Regions from separate parts of the Homo sapiens genome. Here all the other regions are linked to region 1. Evidence: promoter capture Hi-C in human tissues and cell types (Jung and others, 2019). All regions are on one chromosome and are shown on one strand. Each heading gives the region's core, a stretch centred on a gene start or on the middle of the fragment in contact. The rest is flanking DNA. Distances are from core to core; before and after follow the strand shown.

Region 1 (3,757 bases), core at 631-3,130:
CTGCCTCAGCCTCCCAAGTAGCTGAGATTACAGGTATGCACCACCATGCCTGGCTAATTTTGTATTTTTAGTAGAGATAGGGTTTCTCCATGTTGGTCAGGCTGGTCTTGAACTCCTGACCTCAGGTAATCCGCCCACCTCAGCCTCCCAAAATGCTGGGATTACAGGCATGAGCCACTGCGCCCGGCCTGTGAGTCCATTTTTATAGAACTATCCAGAATAGTCCGGGCACAGTGGCTGACGCCTGTAATCCCAGCAGTTTGGGAGGCCAAGGAGGATGGATCACCTGAGGTCAGAAGTTCAAGACCAGCCTGGCCAACATGGTGAAACCCTGTCTCTACAAGAATACAAAAATTAGCTGGGCGTGATGGCGGGTGCCTGTAATCCCAGCTACTTGGGAGGCTGAGGCAGGAAAATTGCTTGAACCCAGCAGGTGGAGGTTGCAGTGAGCCAAGATTGTGCCCATCGCACTCTAGCCTGGGCGATAGAGTGAGGCTCCATCTAAAAAAACAAACAAACAAAAAAGAAAAACAAAAAGTCCAGAATAGGCAAATCCATAGAGATGGACACAGATTGGTGGTTGCCAGGCACGGGAGGCAGGGGAATGAGTAGTGATCACTTCCTTTTGGGTTGATGAAAATATTCTGAACCAGTGGTGAGGATTGCATAATATTGTGAACATACTAAATGCCACTAATGGTAAATTTTGTTATGTGTATTTTACCACGATCAAAAAGTAATTTTTTTTTTTCAGACGGAGTCTTGCTCCGTCACCCAGGCTGGAGTGCAGTGGCATGATCTCAGCTCCCTGCAATCTCCGCCTCCTGGGTACAAGCAATTCTCCTGCCTCAACCTCCCGAGTAGCTAGGACTACAGGTGTGCCACCACACCTGGCTAATGTGTATCTTTAGCAGAGGCAGGCTTTCTCCATGTTGGCCAGGCTGGTCTCAAACTCCTGACCTCGTGATCCGCCCACCTCGGCCTCCCAAAGTGCTGGGATTACAGGCGTGAGCCACCGTGCCTGGCTCAAAAAGTAATTTTTTTTTTTTTAGACAGAGTTTTGCTCTTGTTGCCCAGGCTGGAGTGCAATGGTGCGATCTTGGCTAACTGCAACCTCTGCCACCTGGGTTCAAGTGATTCTTCTGCCTCAGCCTCCCAAGTAGCGGAGGTTACAGGCATGCACCACCATGCCCGGCTAAGTTTTTTTTTGTATTTAGCAGAGACGGGGTTTCACCATGTTGGTCAGACCAGTCTCGAACTCCGCCCTCAGGTGATCCACCCACCTGGGCCTCCCAAAGTGCTAGGATTACACATATGCACCACTGTGCCTGTTCTTAAAAAATAATTTTAAAAAATGTTATCTGCCAGATGTGGTGGCTCATGCCTGTAATCCCAGCACTTTGAGAAGCCGAGGAGGGAGGATTGTTTGCGCCCCGGAGTCTGAAACTGCAGTGAGCTATGATCGCACTACTACATTTTAGCCTGGGCAACAGAGTGAGACCCCCATCTCTAAAAAAATAAAACAGTCTCCAGCCTGTGTGCTATGCAATGGTGCTCTCCTGTGGGTGAGTCTTGGCAGGCAGTCAGACTCAAGATGATTGGGGTGCCAAGTAGAAATGCCATTCTCTGGTGGCAGGGGGAGTCACCGACTCAGTACTCTCACCCCCACGCTTGACCACGCGTGTGTGAAAGTGTTTTCCGGGAGGCAGCTGAGTGCAACAAAGAGGCCAGAGGCTGGTGAATAATTTATCAGGACAGCTGATAGTACCTCCCCAGAACTGCCCTCCAGCCCCCAGCCCCCCTCTCTGGTGTGCCTACCGCCTCCCTGGCCCAAACCCGCTGGACCTGCTCTCCCGGTGCCCGCCCGCAGCCCCCCCCCACTCCAGGCAGCCAAGTCACAGCCTCCGGGGCACCTTCAGGCAAGCGGGTGGTGGGTCCAGAACTCGGAGACCAGAAAGTGAACTTCTGGGCAGAGATGGCCCTGCAGAGCCAGGTGTGGTCTCTGGCCACACCCATGTAAGTGTCTGGGGGGTCAGGGGGGCTGGTGGGCAGGGCCTTGGGAGGGGCTCATGGGGGATGCTGGCCTTGTCTGGGAGCCGAGAGCTCCAGTGGTCTCTCCTAAGGGGACCCGGGGAGTGGAGGGGTTGGCTAGCCAACCCCATAGGCTCATCAGTGTCACCCTTCCTTAAAGAGTCAAGGGGTGGGAGAGAGATATAGGCTCCCCCTGCCCCTTCCTCTTCGGGGATTTTCCGCTGCCAGGGCTGAGAACCCAAAGTCCAGCCAGGGGGTGGGGCTACTGCTGTGGTGCAGGGAGTGGGGAAGGTCAGGGTCACTGGGTTCCACGTTTTGCCCCTAAAGTCAGTGTCCAAGGTGGGAGAAAAGGCTTGAGATCCAACAGAAGTTAAAAGCTCCCAGCCTGAGAAAGACAATGGCAACATTGCAAGGATGACCTCCTTCATGAAATGGCCACCAACTCTTGCGGGTGGCCAGAAGCCCAGGCCGCCTACGTTGTTCTTCCAGAGTTAGTTAGAGATAAGCAAGATGGAATGGGGTGTGTGAAGTCTTTTCATAGCTGAGGGGTGAGAGTTTTTTAAGGTTAAAAGGGTAGAGGGGGCTTCAGAGGTTTGGAAAGAGTTTTGGAAAAGGGGCTTCCCCCCACACTAGGGACCCCAATTCGGTTCCTCACCCTTCTAGGTCCTCCATTGCATTATTCACCAACTACAAACCTGGTTGCTTAGCAATGGGAACCCGATCCCCCCCAGCAAGGAAGAGGCAGGGAGATTACATCTTGGGGGTGGTACAGGAGACCACGGGACTTCAGCCCTCCCCCAGGGGCAAACCTATAAGCACAGAATCTGGGCTTCCTTTGGGATATCTTGCAAAGCATGACTTCGTGGCCGGGCACGGTGGCTCACGCCTGTAATCCCAGCACTTTGGGAGGCCGAGGCGGGCAGATCACCTGAGGTCAGGAGTTCGAGACCAGCCTGGCCAGTATGGTGAAACCCCATCTGTACTAAAAATACAAAAATTAGCCGGGCTTGGTGGTGCACGCCTGTAATCTCAGCTACTCAGGAGGCTGAGGCAGGAGAATCACTTGAACCCAGGAAGCGGGGGTTGCAGTGAGCTGAGATTGAGCCATTGCACTCCAGCCTGGGTGACAGAGCGAGACTCCGACTCAAAAAAAGAAAGAGCATGACTTCAATTCCTTGCCCCAAACAGCATTCAGGGTCTCCAGGCTGCTCTCTTAGCTACCTTGATGGGGATTCCTAGACCTGCACCCCCACCCCCCTCGCCAGCTGTGTTCTCAGTATTTTGGATCTGATAGCTTCAAGTTCTGATCTTGGCTCCATGACCTTGGACACTGCTGCCACTTCTCAGAACCTCAGTTTTCCCATCCATAAAATGGACACATTCATATAGCTTACCTCCTAGAGTCGTTGGGAGGATTCAGTGAATTACATTGCACCTGGCACGTGTTACGGGCTAGCTAATGGTTGGCTGATTTTGTTCTTAGCTGGAATGTCAACTCAGCAAAGAGTTGACTCCACTGTGTCATGATAGAGGCAGGGAGGGGGAGGCAGAGGTGGCTGTGGGAACCTAGCGGAAACCCCGTGGGGCACTTAGAACACTATATGCTATATATAGTATATATATATCATATATATAGCACTATAAGTGCTAATAGCCTTCACGTTGTGGCCACAGAAGATCTGGAAGGTCCTAGCTGGAGTTCAGGCAATGAGGCTTACCCAGTAGG
Region 2 (3,757 bases), core at 533-3,032, 350 kb after region 1:
TTTATCTCTTCCTAACTTCTGGCAGCATCTGCACGCAGACAGCCTTCAATAGCTGCAAAAAAGCTCCGAGGCAGAAAAATGAGTTGCTGTGGCTGATACTTGAGGTGGGAGGCAGTCTGGGTGCATGGAACTTCTGCCACTTCTACAGGCGTTAGCCACCTCACCCGGCCCAGGGCAGGGATTTTTGCCTGTTGTGTTTACTGCTTGCTACATTCCCATTGCCTTAGACAAAATCTGAGGACTTAAAACAATAAATCCTAAAGAAATGCTTGATGGATCCTAACTGCTAATGCTTTAGTTCAGGTCTTTGTGACTCATCTGGATGCTGTCGAAGAGACAGAGCTGGACACCGGTTAAAAGTGGTAAAGACAGTTTTATTCGGTACTATTGTAATAGGGGAAAAGAGACTTCAGCAGAGAAATGAGCTCAGTTTCCAAAACAGCAAAGACAGATTGGCATTTACAGCCGATGAGCAGAGTGAAGGGTTTAGTGGGTGAAAAATGACTAAGAGGAAACATCAAGCATAGGGGGATTCTTTTTTATTTTTAATAGAGACAGGGTCTTACTATGTTGCCCAGGCTGCTCTTGAACTCCTGGCCTCCAGCAATCTTCCTGCTTTTCCCTCCTAAAGTGTTGGGATTACAGGCATGAGCCACTGCACTCGGCAGATAGGGGGATTCTTGCCAAACCATTGTTGTAGACAATGTTTGTGTCTCCTTCAAATTCATGTTTTTGGTTTTTTTTTTTTTAATTTTATGGAGTCTCGCCCTGTTGCCCAGGCTGGAGTGCAGTGGCATGATTCTCAGCTTACTGCAACTTCCGCTTTCCGGGTTCAAGTGATTCTCCTGCCTCAGCCTCCCAAGTAGCTGGAATTACAGGCCCATGTCACCACGCCTAGCTAATTTTTGTAGTTTTAGTAGAGACAGGTTTTTGCCATGTTGGCCAGGCTGGTCTTGGACTCTTGACCTCAGGTGATCCACCTGCCGTGGCCTCCCAAAATGCTGAGATTACAGGCGTGAGCTACTGTGCCAGGCCCAAATTCATGTATTGAAACCTAATCCTCAATGTGATGGTGTTGGAGGCAGGGCCTTTGGGAGGTGATAAAGTTATGGGACTGGAGCCCTCAGGAATGGGATTAATGCCTCTATCAAACAGATCCCAGAGAGGTCCCTCAACCCTTCCACCATGTGGGGGCACAATGAAAAAATGGTCATCTATGAACCAAGAAGCAGATTCTCAGCAGGCACTGAATGCGCTGGTGCCTTGCTCTTGGACTTCCCAGCCACTAGAATTGTGGGAAATGAATTTCTGTTGCTTTTAAGCCACTCAATCTATGTTATTTTGTTAGAGTAGCCCAAATGGATTAAGATGCTAACTTAAGGATTCTTGCTGAAGGCTGGCCAGGGTGATAAAATATTAAGGATTGGGGTATAATTTAGCAGGATTCTTTGCCAAGACTGACAGAAGCAGGCTAAGGACAGGATCCAAGAATGATGCCTAGTTGAAAAGAGGAGTCATGGGTGGCTCATGCCTGCAGTCCTAGCACTTGGGGAGGCTAGTGTGAAGCTTGCTTGAGCCCTAGGAGTTCAAGACCAGCCTGGGAAAAATAGAGAGACCCCCATCTCTACCAAAAATAAAAATAAAAATAAAAAAATTAGGCGGGCATAGTAGTGCATGCCTGTGGTCCCAGCTACTCAAGAGGCTGAGCCAAGAGGATCGCTTCAGCTCTGGTGGTCGAGGTTACAGTGAGCGCTGTGATCACTGCTGCACTCTAGCCTGGGTGACAGAGTGAGACCTTGTTTCCCAAAAAAAAAGAAAGAAAGAAAAAGAGAGTCTTTATCAATGCTTTCATGGCCTCTTTTTTTTTTTTTTTTTTTTTTTGAGACAAGGTCTCACTTTGTTGCCCAGGCTGGAGTGCAGTGGCACGATCTCACCTCACTGCAACCTCTGCCTCTCAGGTTCAAGCAATTCTCCTGCCTCAGCCTCCCAAGTAGCTGGGACTACAAGTGTGCACCACCACACCCAGATAATTTTTGTATTTTTTTTTTTTTGAGACGGAGTCTCGCTCTGTTGCCCAGGCTGGAGTGCACTGGCGTGATCTCAGCTCACTGCAAGCTCTGCCTCCCGGGTTCACACCATTCTCCTGCCTCACCCTTCCGAGTAGCTGGGACTACAGGCGCCCGCCATCATGCCCGGCTATTTTTTTTTGTATTTTTAGTAGCGACGGGGTTTCACCGTGTTAGCCAGGATGGTCTCAATCTCCTGACCTCGTGATCCACCCGCCTTGGCCTCCCAAAGTGCTGGGATTACAGGCACCCGCCACCACGCCCGGCTAGTTTTTTCTGTATTTTTAGTAGAGTTGGGGTTTCACCATGTTGGCCAGGCTTGTCTCAAACTCCTGACCTCAAGTGGTCTGCCTGCCTCAACCCTCGAAAGTGCTAGTATTATAGGTGTGAGCCACAGTGCCCGGCCCTTTCATGGCCTCTTAACTGGAATTTTTGCATCATATCTCTCTTCCAATCCTCCACATACTACAGATGGATCTTCCTGAGGTGCAAATCTAATCAGATCATCTCCCTCTTTAGACAGGCTTGAATCAGATCTGGACTACATCTTCATTCTCATTTTTTGACACAAGTCATGCTCACTGTATGGGCCAGCCACACTGAACTATGGGCTATGTCGTTCATGCCCATGGGCCTCTGCATAACCTTTTCAACAGCCTTCACTTTCTCTTAACTGTCAGGTCAAGCATCACTTCTTTCTGGAAGTGTTTTCCAATCCTCCGAGTTAGGTCCACCCACTTCTATGAATTAATAGCATTTATCACAATGTCGTGATTGTTAGGTTTCTCCTCTAGGAGAAGTATAGCACAGTGCTGAGAGCCTAATGCCAGAGCCAATCTGGATTTGAATTCTGACTTTACTCCTTACTGGCCATTCACATAACCTGTGTGGTTCTGTTTACTTGGGTCTGCCACATAATGAATGCAGTATAAATGCTACTTATCATAGCAGTCAGCTATTGCTGCACAAGAAAAGAGACCCCAAAACTCAGTATCTTGAAATAACAATACCTTAAGCTTTTTTTCGTTTTTCATACAGGCATTCAAAGCTATGCCTTTTCCTCTCAGCACTGCTTTAGCTGCATCCCACAGCATTTTTTCAGGTATGTTCATTAGCATTCAGTTCAAAATATTTTCTTATTTCCACTGTGATTTTTTTTTTCTCTGACTTAGGAGTTATTTAGGGATGTGTGGTTAAATTTCCAAACAATTGTAAATTTCTAGTTATCTTTTTTGTTGTTGACTTCTAGTTTAATTCCACTGTGCTCATACTTTGTAGGATCTCAGTTCTACAAAATTTGTTGAGACTTGCTTGACAGCCCAGCATATGGGCTATTGTGATGGCTATTCCAAAAGTAGCAATCATTTATTTTTGCCCACATGTCTGAGGACTTGGCTGATGTGGGTGGGGACCAGCTGGACAGCTTTGATGCATGCTTTGGCCTCTCTCTGCAGGTTGGGTTTAGATCAATTCTGCATGTATTCATTCTTTTTTTTTTTTTCAGACATAGTCTCACTCTGCTGCCCAGGCTGGAGTGCGGTGGTGTGATCTCGGCTGACTGCAACCTCTGCCTCCTGGATTCAAGTGGTTCTCCCGCCTCAGCCTCCTGAGTAGCTGGGATTACAGGCACCTGCCACCACGCCCGACTTTTTTTTTTTTTTTTTTTTTGTAGAGATGGGGTTTCTCCATGT
Region 3 (3,757 bases), core at 612-3,111, 320 kb before region 1:
GCCACTGCACTCCAGCCTGAGTGACAGAGCAAGACTCCGTCTCAGAAAAAAAAAAAAAAAAATGACGGTGTTGGATCACCCAGGCTCTGAGATGCCCTGGACCTCCACGCTTCCTCAGGGACACAGGTGCACACACACCACACCCACAACTGCCACTGGCCCTGGCGGTCTGTCCTGGAACCCAGTGGTGATATTTCACCCCCGGGCCCCCCTCCCACAGGAAGACGCTGTAGCCGCCTGTTGGGGTGCACGTGGAGTGGCGGTTCCCAGCACTCAGGGGGTTCCCCCTCCCAAGGCATGTTCTGGGGGACCCTCCTCAGGTCACCAGGGGATTCAGAGATGGGGACCTAGGGATCTCCTTGCTGTTCACCAGAGAGATAGAGACAAAGAAGCAGGGGTGGAGAGAAAATAGAGATTAGAGAGAGAGAGAGACAGACAGAGAGAGAGAAAGAGTCAGAAAGAAAGAGAGACACAGAAAGAGAGACAGAGACACAAAGAGACAGAGAGACAGAAGGTGGGGGGCTGTGCTTGGTGGTTCACGCCTGTAATCCCAGCACTTTGGGAGGCCGAGGCAGATGGATCACCTGAGGCCAGGAGTGTGAGACCAGCCTGGCCAACATAGTGAAACCCCATCTCTACTAAAAATACAAAAAATTAGCCGGGCATGGTGGCACACGCCTGTAATCCCAGCTATTTGGGAGGTGGAGGCAGGAGAATCGCTTGAACACAGAAGGCAGAGGTTGCAGTGAGCTGAGATCCCGCCACTGCACGCCAGCCTGGGCAACAGAGCAAGACTCTCAAAAAAAAAAAAAAAAAAAAAAGAGCAAGAGTCTCAAAAAAAAAAAAAAGAAAGAAAAGAAAAGAACAAAGAGAGAGAGAGACAGAGAGATAGAGGGACAGAGACGGAGACAGAGAGGAGAAAGGAGACAAGCTGGAGAGAGAGAGGGAGACAGAGAGGAGAAAGAAGACAGCTAGAGAAATATAAGACAGAGGAGACAGAGACACGGAGAGATAGAGACAGACAGAGAGACAGAAATTACATGGTGATAGAGAGAGGTGGAGAGAGAAACAAGGGGCCCATAAAGAGCAGAAGGGGAAACAGGAGGAGATGGGACAGAGAGAACAGAGAGACAGAGAGATAAACAGTGAGGAAGAAAGAAAACCATGAGAAAGGAGGGTGGATGGAAACAGAGGGGAAGGGCAGGGGAACGGAGGGCGTTGGGATATGAGCGGCAGGTGGGGCCTGGGGCGGGCTGGGAGGGGACGTCCAGTCCCTGCCGATCTGGGAATACTGGGGACCCCAATAATCCAGGGAGACCTGAAGGGGGGTGTCGGGCAGAGGGATGGGGACCAGGACAACGGCTGGGCATGAGTCACTTCCTGGGCCTAAGGGAAGGAATGACTCACCACTCATTTGCCCCAATTCAACCCTGGAGGGGCTTCCAGGGGAATTTTGGGGTCTGTTATGAGCACAGCTTCAGAGGGCGGGTGTTTGGGGTGCAGATTGGAGGTCCCCGGACCACTCAGCCACTGTGTTCAAATTTAGTACCCCTTAGGTGGGTGGAAGGCAGAGATCCCCACTCCCACCTCCACACTCCTTCCAGCTGGGTTAAACCAAGGCCGAAACCCCCCAGCCCAAGCCCGTACTCCCCACTTCTGTCAGGATTCCCCTCTTCCTCCTCTCTGGCCACAAGGCTTGGCTAGTTCCTCCCTCGGCCAGAACCCAGTTCCTCTTTGCAGAACAGACCACAAAATGACCTCCCCTGGCAGGACAGGATCTAGGCAGATTCATCTCTAACTCCCAAAGCCCCAGGTAACTCCTTTAAAGCTCAGAACCACTCTAGGAGGCAGGGGCTGTGTTGATGCCCATTCTACAGATAGAGAAACTGAGGCTTGGAGCCCAGAAAAGGATCAGGAGGAATCCAATAAACAGAAGAGGTTGGGGAAGGAGGAATTGAGGGATTGAGGTCCTCAGGGCCCTGGGCAGGGTTCCTTTGTGCCCCATCCCCTCTGCATGGGCTGAGCTGGGTTCTCTACTCCCACCGTGAGGCTACAGGGCCCAGCTGCCTCCATCTGGGGCCTTGGAAGTTGCCCAAACAGAAGCCGGGAGAGAAGCTGCTGTTCTGGTTTGAGTTCCTTCTGGTTTGCATTCTCTGGGCTGAGCCCTAAGTAGTCAGTTTCCTGCATTGAGATCCTGGGGTGGGGGGTGGTGGGGCAGTCACCCCTTCTTTAGGCTTCCTCCTAAGGACCCCGAGACAATTCCCCAGACCCACTAGTGTCTTACCAGAATTTAATAATCATCATAATTTATTATTTATTCATTTATTTTGAGACAGGGTCTCACTGTCACCCAGGCTGGAGTGCAGTGGCGTGATCTCAGCTCACTGCAACCTCCACCTCCCAGGTTCAAGAGACTCTCCTACCTCAGGCTCCCGAGTAGCTGGGATTACAGGCGCCCGCCACCACACCCAGGTAATTTTTGTATTTTTAGTAAAGACAGAGTTTCACCATGTTGGCCAGGCTGGTCTCGAACTCCTGACCTCTGGTGATCTGCTGGCCTGGGCCTACCAAAGTGCTGGGATTACAGGTGTGAGCCACTGCACCCGGCCTTATTATTAATTTATTTTTTGAGATAGGATCTTGCTCTGTCACCCAGGCTGGAGTGCAGTGGTGCAAACACAGCTCACTGCAGCTTCAACCTCCTGGGCTCAAGGGATCCTCCCACCTCAGCCTCCTGAGCCACTAGGACTACAGGCGCACACCACCAAGCCCGACTAATTAAAAAAAATTTTTTTTGGCTGGGCGCGGTGGCTCATGCCTGTAATCCCAGCACTTTGGGAGGCGGAGGCGGGTGAATCACCTGAGGTCAGGAGTTTGAGACCAGCCTGGCCATCATGGTGAAACCCCGTCTCTACTAAAAATACAAACACAAAAACTAAAACAAAAAACTAGCCGGGCATGGTGGCAGGCACCTATAATCCCAGCTACTCGGGGTGGATGGGGGCGAGGCAGGAGAATCGCTTGAACCCAGGAGGCGGAGGTTGCAGTGAGCCGAGATTGCACCATTGCACTCCAGCCTGAGCGACAAGAGCGAGACTTTGTCTCAAAAAAAAAAAAAAAAATTTGTTTTTGGTAGAGACAACGTCTCGATGTGTTGCCCAGGCTAGTCTCCAGTCCCTGGGCTCAAGAGATCCACCTGCCTCGGCCTCTCAAAGTGCTGGGATTGCAGGTGTGAGCCACTGTGCCCAGCCAACACTTTTAAAATGCTGTTTACCTAATTCTTACTGTGAACCAGGAATAGTTTGTGTCCTAACTCACTCATCCCTTAAAACAATCTAAGACGGAGACGGGTTGTGCTCCATTTTATAGATGAGAAAAGTGAGGCGCAGAGGCTCTCTGACTTGGCCCTGGTGACACAGACAGCCAGGGCGTGGAACCCTTGGGAAGCCAGGTCTTGGCAACTGCCCCCAACAAGTGTGCCCCCAAGAAACCCAAGGTGGGCTCTTGTCTCTCACTCTCAAGCCAAGGCGGGGTGCTGAGCTGACACCTGCCACTTGGGGCTGGCCCAGGGAAGCTGTGTCCCTGTGGTCCAGGAAGTTCTGGTTTTTGCCCCAAATGTCATTTCTTCACTCTCTTTGTTGCCCCGTTGCTTAGGCAACGAGCTACCCTGATAACCGTTACAGTCACCTTGGGTGGGGCGGGAAAGGGAGTCCCAGGAAGTCACAACAAAAATCAAATTCAAACCCAGAACCAGGCA
Region 4 (3,757 bases), core at 1-2,500, 270 kb after region 1:
ACAGAAGAGAGCTTCTAGGTGCACCTGTCCAGGGACCACCACCCAGGCTCCGCCCCTGCTGTTTTCCTATGGGAAGAGATAGGATAGGTCAGGGGGATGAGGTGGGGAGGAGGAGGGACCCTGGCATTTCAGTAATCCCTGCGGCAAGCCAGGAGAAGACGGGCAGCCCCGAAAGAGGAATCTGGAGGAGTAGAGAGGGGTCCCCAAGGAACAGGTGGAATCTGGAGGCTCGAGGGCAGGAATGAATGGGGAAAAAAGGGGTGTCTTGAGCTGGAATCTGGAGAGATGGGGGAGTTATTTACTTGGGGTGTACGGTAGGGATCTGGAGAGCAGGAATGGGGTAGTGTGAGTCTCTAGAGGCTACGATGGAGGGAGACAGGGTGTCCCCAAGCGGGGGGCCGAAGAGAGGATTGAAGACTGAATGGGGTGCCCTGATTGGCGAATAAAGATGCGGTAGGAAAAGAGGGGTACCGTTGGGGGATAAGGTGGGAAAAGAGGGGTACCGTTGGGGGATAAGGTGGGAAAAGAGGGGTACCGTTGGGGGATAAGGCGGGAAAAGAGGGGTGCCCAGGGTTGTAGGCGGGCCATGGGGGCCAGATCTCAGAGATCTGGGGTTGGTAGGAGAAGAAGGAAGTGTCCTGATTTGGGATCTGGGGCGCTGAGGGGCAGAGATGGCAGAGAAGGGATGGGGGTGGGTTACTGGGTTTGAAGGACAGAAACAGGAGGATGAGGGGGTGTTTCCAGGCAGGGTTAAGGGTCCTGGGGGTGGAATCTCAGGGGGTGTCTCTGATTGGGTTAGCTCTGGAGTCTGGGGATTGTGGGGGAGGAGAAGACAGGTGGGGAAGGTGCTGGGGGTGCGTCCCTGCCCCCGCCCCCTTCCCCCGCGGTCACCTGCTCGAAGGCCCAGCTCTCGGCTACCCGCTTGGCGCTGAGGTCCAGCAGCGCCTCGGGCCGGCCCCGGCCACGCGCGGCCCCGGCCCCGGCATCGCGCTCCTCGGGTCCCGCGGGGCAGCCCCGGCTCCGCTTGGCCGCGGGGGGTTCCATCCGGCCCGGCCGGGGCCAGGGCCGGGGCGGGGCCTCTTTGGGGGGCTCGGTCCGATGCCCGCTCCGCTTCGCCGGCTCCCGCGCCCCCTGCCCTCCTTCCCGTCCGTCCTCTGCGCTCGGCCGCCCCGGGACCCCTACCGCACCCACCCCCGACCCGCGCCGGGCCGGCAGGGTGATGCGGCCCCTTTAAGACTCTTCACAACAATGAAGCTGCTTCAGCCGCCGCTTTAGCTCCGCCGTCGTCCCGCCCCCACCGCCTGTCCCTATTGGCCCCCCCTCGGCCTCCTCGGCCCTCCCCCGCCATTGGCTGCGCCGCCAGACCCGTGTCCAAGCCTCGCTGCTCACTCGATGACTGCGATGCCAGTCTTTTCTTGTTTACCCAACCAGAGCGCACAGCGAGGGGCGCTGTCAATCACGGGGCGCCAGAGGCCAATCAGAGTGGGAGGACCCCCGCGGCCCAGGCCTTATGCGGAGTTTCGGGGCGGGCCCGGGGTTCATTCACAACATTCCTCCCCCGCCTCTCTTGGGCTGGACTGCGCGCCCCAGGCTTCTGGGGCTGCGCCCACACACGGCTTTGTTTACTGAGGGTCGCTTCCGGGCGCCGCGAGGGGACAATCAACATAGCCCGGCCGGTGAGCGAGACAGAGCAGCGGGATCCCTTGGCAGTGGCTCAGCCCCTCGTCCCTCCCAGCTGTGCGACCCGAGAAACTCACTCAACCTCTCTGGGCACCGGGTCAAGTTTTGGTTCTTGTGGGGGCGGAGGGGTCGCAGGCTCACTGAGGGAGCTCATGCGGGCCGCGGACCCCCTCTCCAGAAACAAAGCTCGGTTAGGGGGTTCATAGGTCATCCCTTGAGCCTCAAAACTAGTATAGTACCCCGCCCCTCCTTTCCATGCCCTAGATACTATCTTGGGTCATATGAAATTGCTAATTTTTTTTTACCATTTTTGGCCTGTTAAAATGGCAATTCCATGAGGTTCACCCTAACACTTAATCAAACCCCAGCACCTCTGAGCATTTTTTCTGACTCAGCTTGTGTAGGCCACCGTCTCTGGCCTGGAAGCTGGCCATGGCTTCCATCACCCGTTCCCGTCCCGGCTCCTTGCCAATGTCCTCAGAGGACCCTGCATTTTTCCTTCCTCATACTTCTCACCATTACCATTTATTTATCTGTTTCGGCGGTTTTTTTTTTTTTTTTTTTTTTTTTTTTTACGGAGTTTCACTCTTGTCGTCCAGGCTGGGGTGCAGTGGTGCGATCTCGGCTCACTGCAACCTGCGCCTCCCGGGGTCAAGTGATTCTCCTGCCTCAGCCTCCCGAATAGCTGAAATTATAGGCGCCCACCACCACGCCCGGCTAATTTTTGTATTTTTGGTAGAGACGGAGTTTTGCCATGTTGGCCAGGCTGGTCTTGAACTCCTGACCTCAAGTGATCCACCTTTGGTAGTTGCTTAATTTCAATCTCTCCCTCTCCACTGTGAGCCTCAGGAGGCAGGAGTTTGTCCCATCTGTGCTTTACTGTACCGGCAGCACCTGGAAGGTAGGCGCTTAACCTAGAACTTGTTGAATGTACCAACCAACACATGCTTTGCCTCCATTCAGTTAAATGATAGGCACAGCAGAAAAAAAAAAAAAACAGTGATTATCCACTCATCCATATGGAAGCCCTAGCTTTTTCTTGGAGAAACTTCGAGTCTCACAGCTGCACCCTCTGGCCAGTCTTCACCCACTCTCCCTGCCACCCCCTCAATTAGTTAAACTCCCCTGCAGACCTGCACTGTCCAGTATGGTCACCAATGGCCACAAGTGGTCTCTGAGCCCTTGAAATGGGACTGGCTGAAATTAGGTTGTGCTGGAAAGGTAAAATACAGAGTGGATTTTGGAGACATAGCAGGAAGGGAACAAGGAAAAATATTTCTTTTTTTTTTTTTGAGATGGAGTGATCTCAGCTCACTGCAACCTCTGCCTCCCAGGTTCACGTGATTATTCTGCCTCAGCCTCCCAAGTAGCTGGGGCTACAGGCACCCACCGCCACGCCTGACTAACTTTTGCATTTTTAGTAGAGACGGGGTTTCACCATATTGGCAGGCTGGTCTCAAACTCCTGACCTTATGATCTGCCTGCCTTGGCCTCCCAAAGTGCTGGGATTCCAGGCGTGAGCCACCACGCCCGGCCTAAAATATTTCATTAAGAATGTTTTCCATCCTGGCTAACACAGTGAAACCCCTTCTCTACTAAAAATACAAAAAATTAGCCGGGCATGGTGGCAGGCGCCTATAGTCCCAGCTACTAGGGAGGCTAGGGCAGGAGAATGGTGGGAACCCAGGAGGCAGAGGTTGCAGTGAGCCAAGATTGCGCCACTGCACTCCAGCCTGGGGGACAGAGTGAGACTCCAAAAAAAAAAAAAAAAGAATGTTTTGGCCAGGCGCGGTGGTTCACGCCTGGAATCCCAGCACTTTGGGATGGTGAGGTGGGAAGATCACTTGAGCCCAGGAGTTTGAGACCAGCATGGGCAACATGGCGAAAACCCATCTCTATTAAAAAATAAGAAAATCAGCTGGGCGTGGTGGCACAAGCCAGTAGTCCCAGCTACTCTGGAGGCTGTGACAGGAGGATCTCTCGAGCCCAAGAGGTTCAGGCTACAGTGAGATATGATTGTATCACTGTGCTCCAGCCGGAGTGACAGTGTGACCGTCTCAGGAAAACAAACAAACAA

What was found. Contacts are between HindIII fragments. The study calls those that stand out against the background at their distance.
Region 2: a fragment that was not itself captured here is called in contact with the fragment with the promoter of PALM3 in region 1 in 1 of the 25 tissues and cell types used here (dorsolateral prefrontal cortex).
Region 3: a fragment that was not itself captured here is called in contact with the fragment with the promoter of PALM3 in region 1 in 1 of the 25 tissues and cell types used here (spleen).
Region 4: the fragment with the promoter of ZSWIM4 here is called in contact with the fragment with the promoter of PALM3 in region 1 in 2 of the 25 tissues and cell types used here (dorsolateral prefrontal cortex and spleen).

What each region holds. Positions count from the first base shown.
Region 1 is chr19:14,060,199-14,063,955 of GRCh38, reverse strand. It overlaps PALM3 (paralemmin 3), which reads left to right and starts at 1,880. Exons shown (of 7, transcript NM_001145028.2): 1 at 1,880-2,016. The coding sequence starts at 1,976. RefSeq lists an enhancer at 1,385-1,939. The HindIII fragment of the contact is 26,422 bases long and covers 1-3,757 here.
Region 2 is chr19:13,713,781-13,717,537 of GRCh38, reverse strand. It overlaps LOC105372284 (a long non-coding RNA gene), which reads left to right. Exons shown (of 7, transcript XR_001754028.1): 2 at 299-362; 3 at 3,105-3,168. Among named protein-coding and RNA genes, the nearest start is that of YJU2B, 32 kb to the left of the region's middle. The HindIII fragment of the contact is 3,426 bases long and covers 70-3,495 here.
Region 3 is chr19:14,382,075-14,385,831 of GRCh38, reverse strand. All of the region lies in intron 1 of ADGRE5 (adhesion G protein-coupled receptor E5), which reads right to left. Among named protein-coding and RNA genes, the nearest start is that of ADGRE5, 2.5 kb to the right of the region's middle. RefSeq lists a silencer at 2,900-3,039. The HindIII fragment of the contact is 5,608 bases long and covers 1-3,757 here.
Region 4 is chr19:13,792,936-13,796,692 of GRCh38, reverse strand. ZSWIM4 (zinc finger SWIM-type containing 4) reads right to left here and starts at 1,250. Exons shown (of 14, transcript NM_001367834.3): 1 at 892-1,250. The coding sequence starts at 1,044. RefSeq lists an enhancer at 587-656 and silencers at 897-1,106, 1,127-1,616. The HindIII fragment of the contact is 5,751 bases long and covers 1-3,624 here.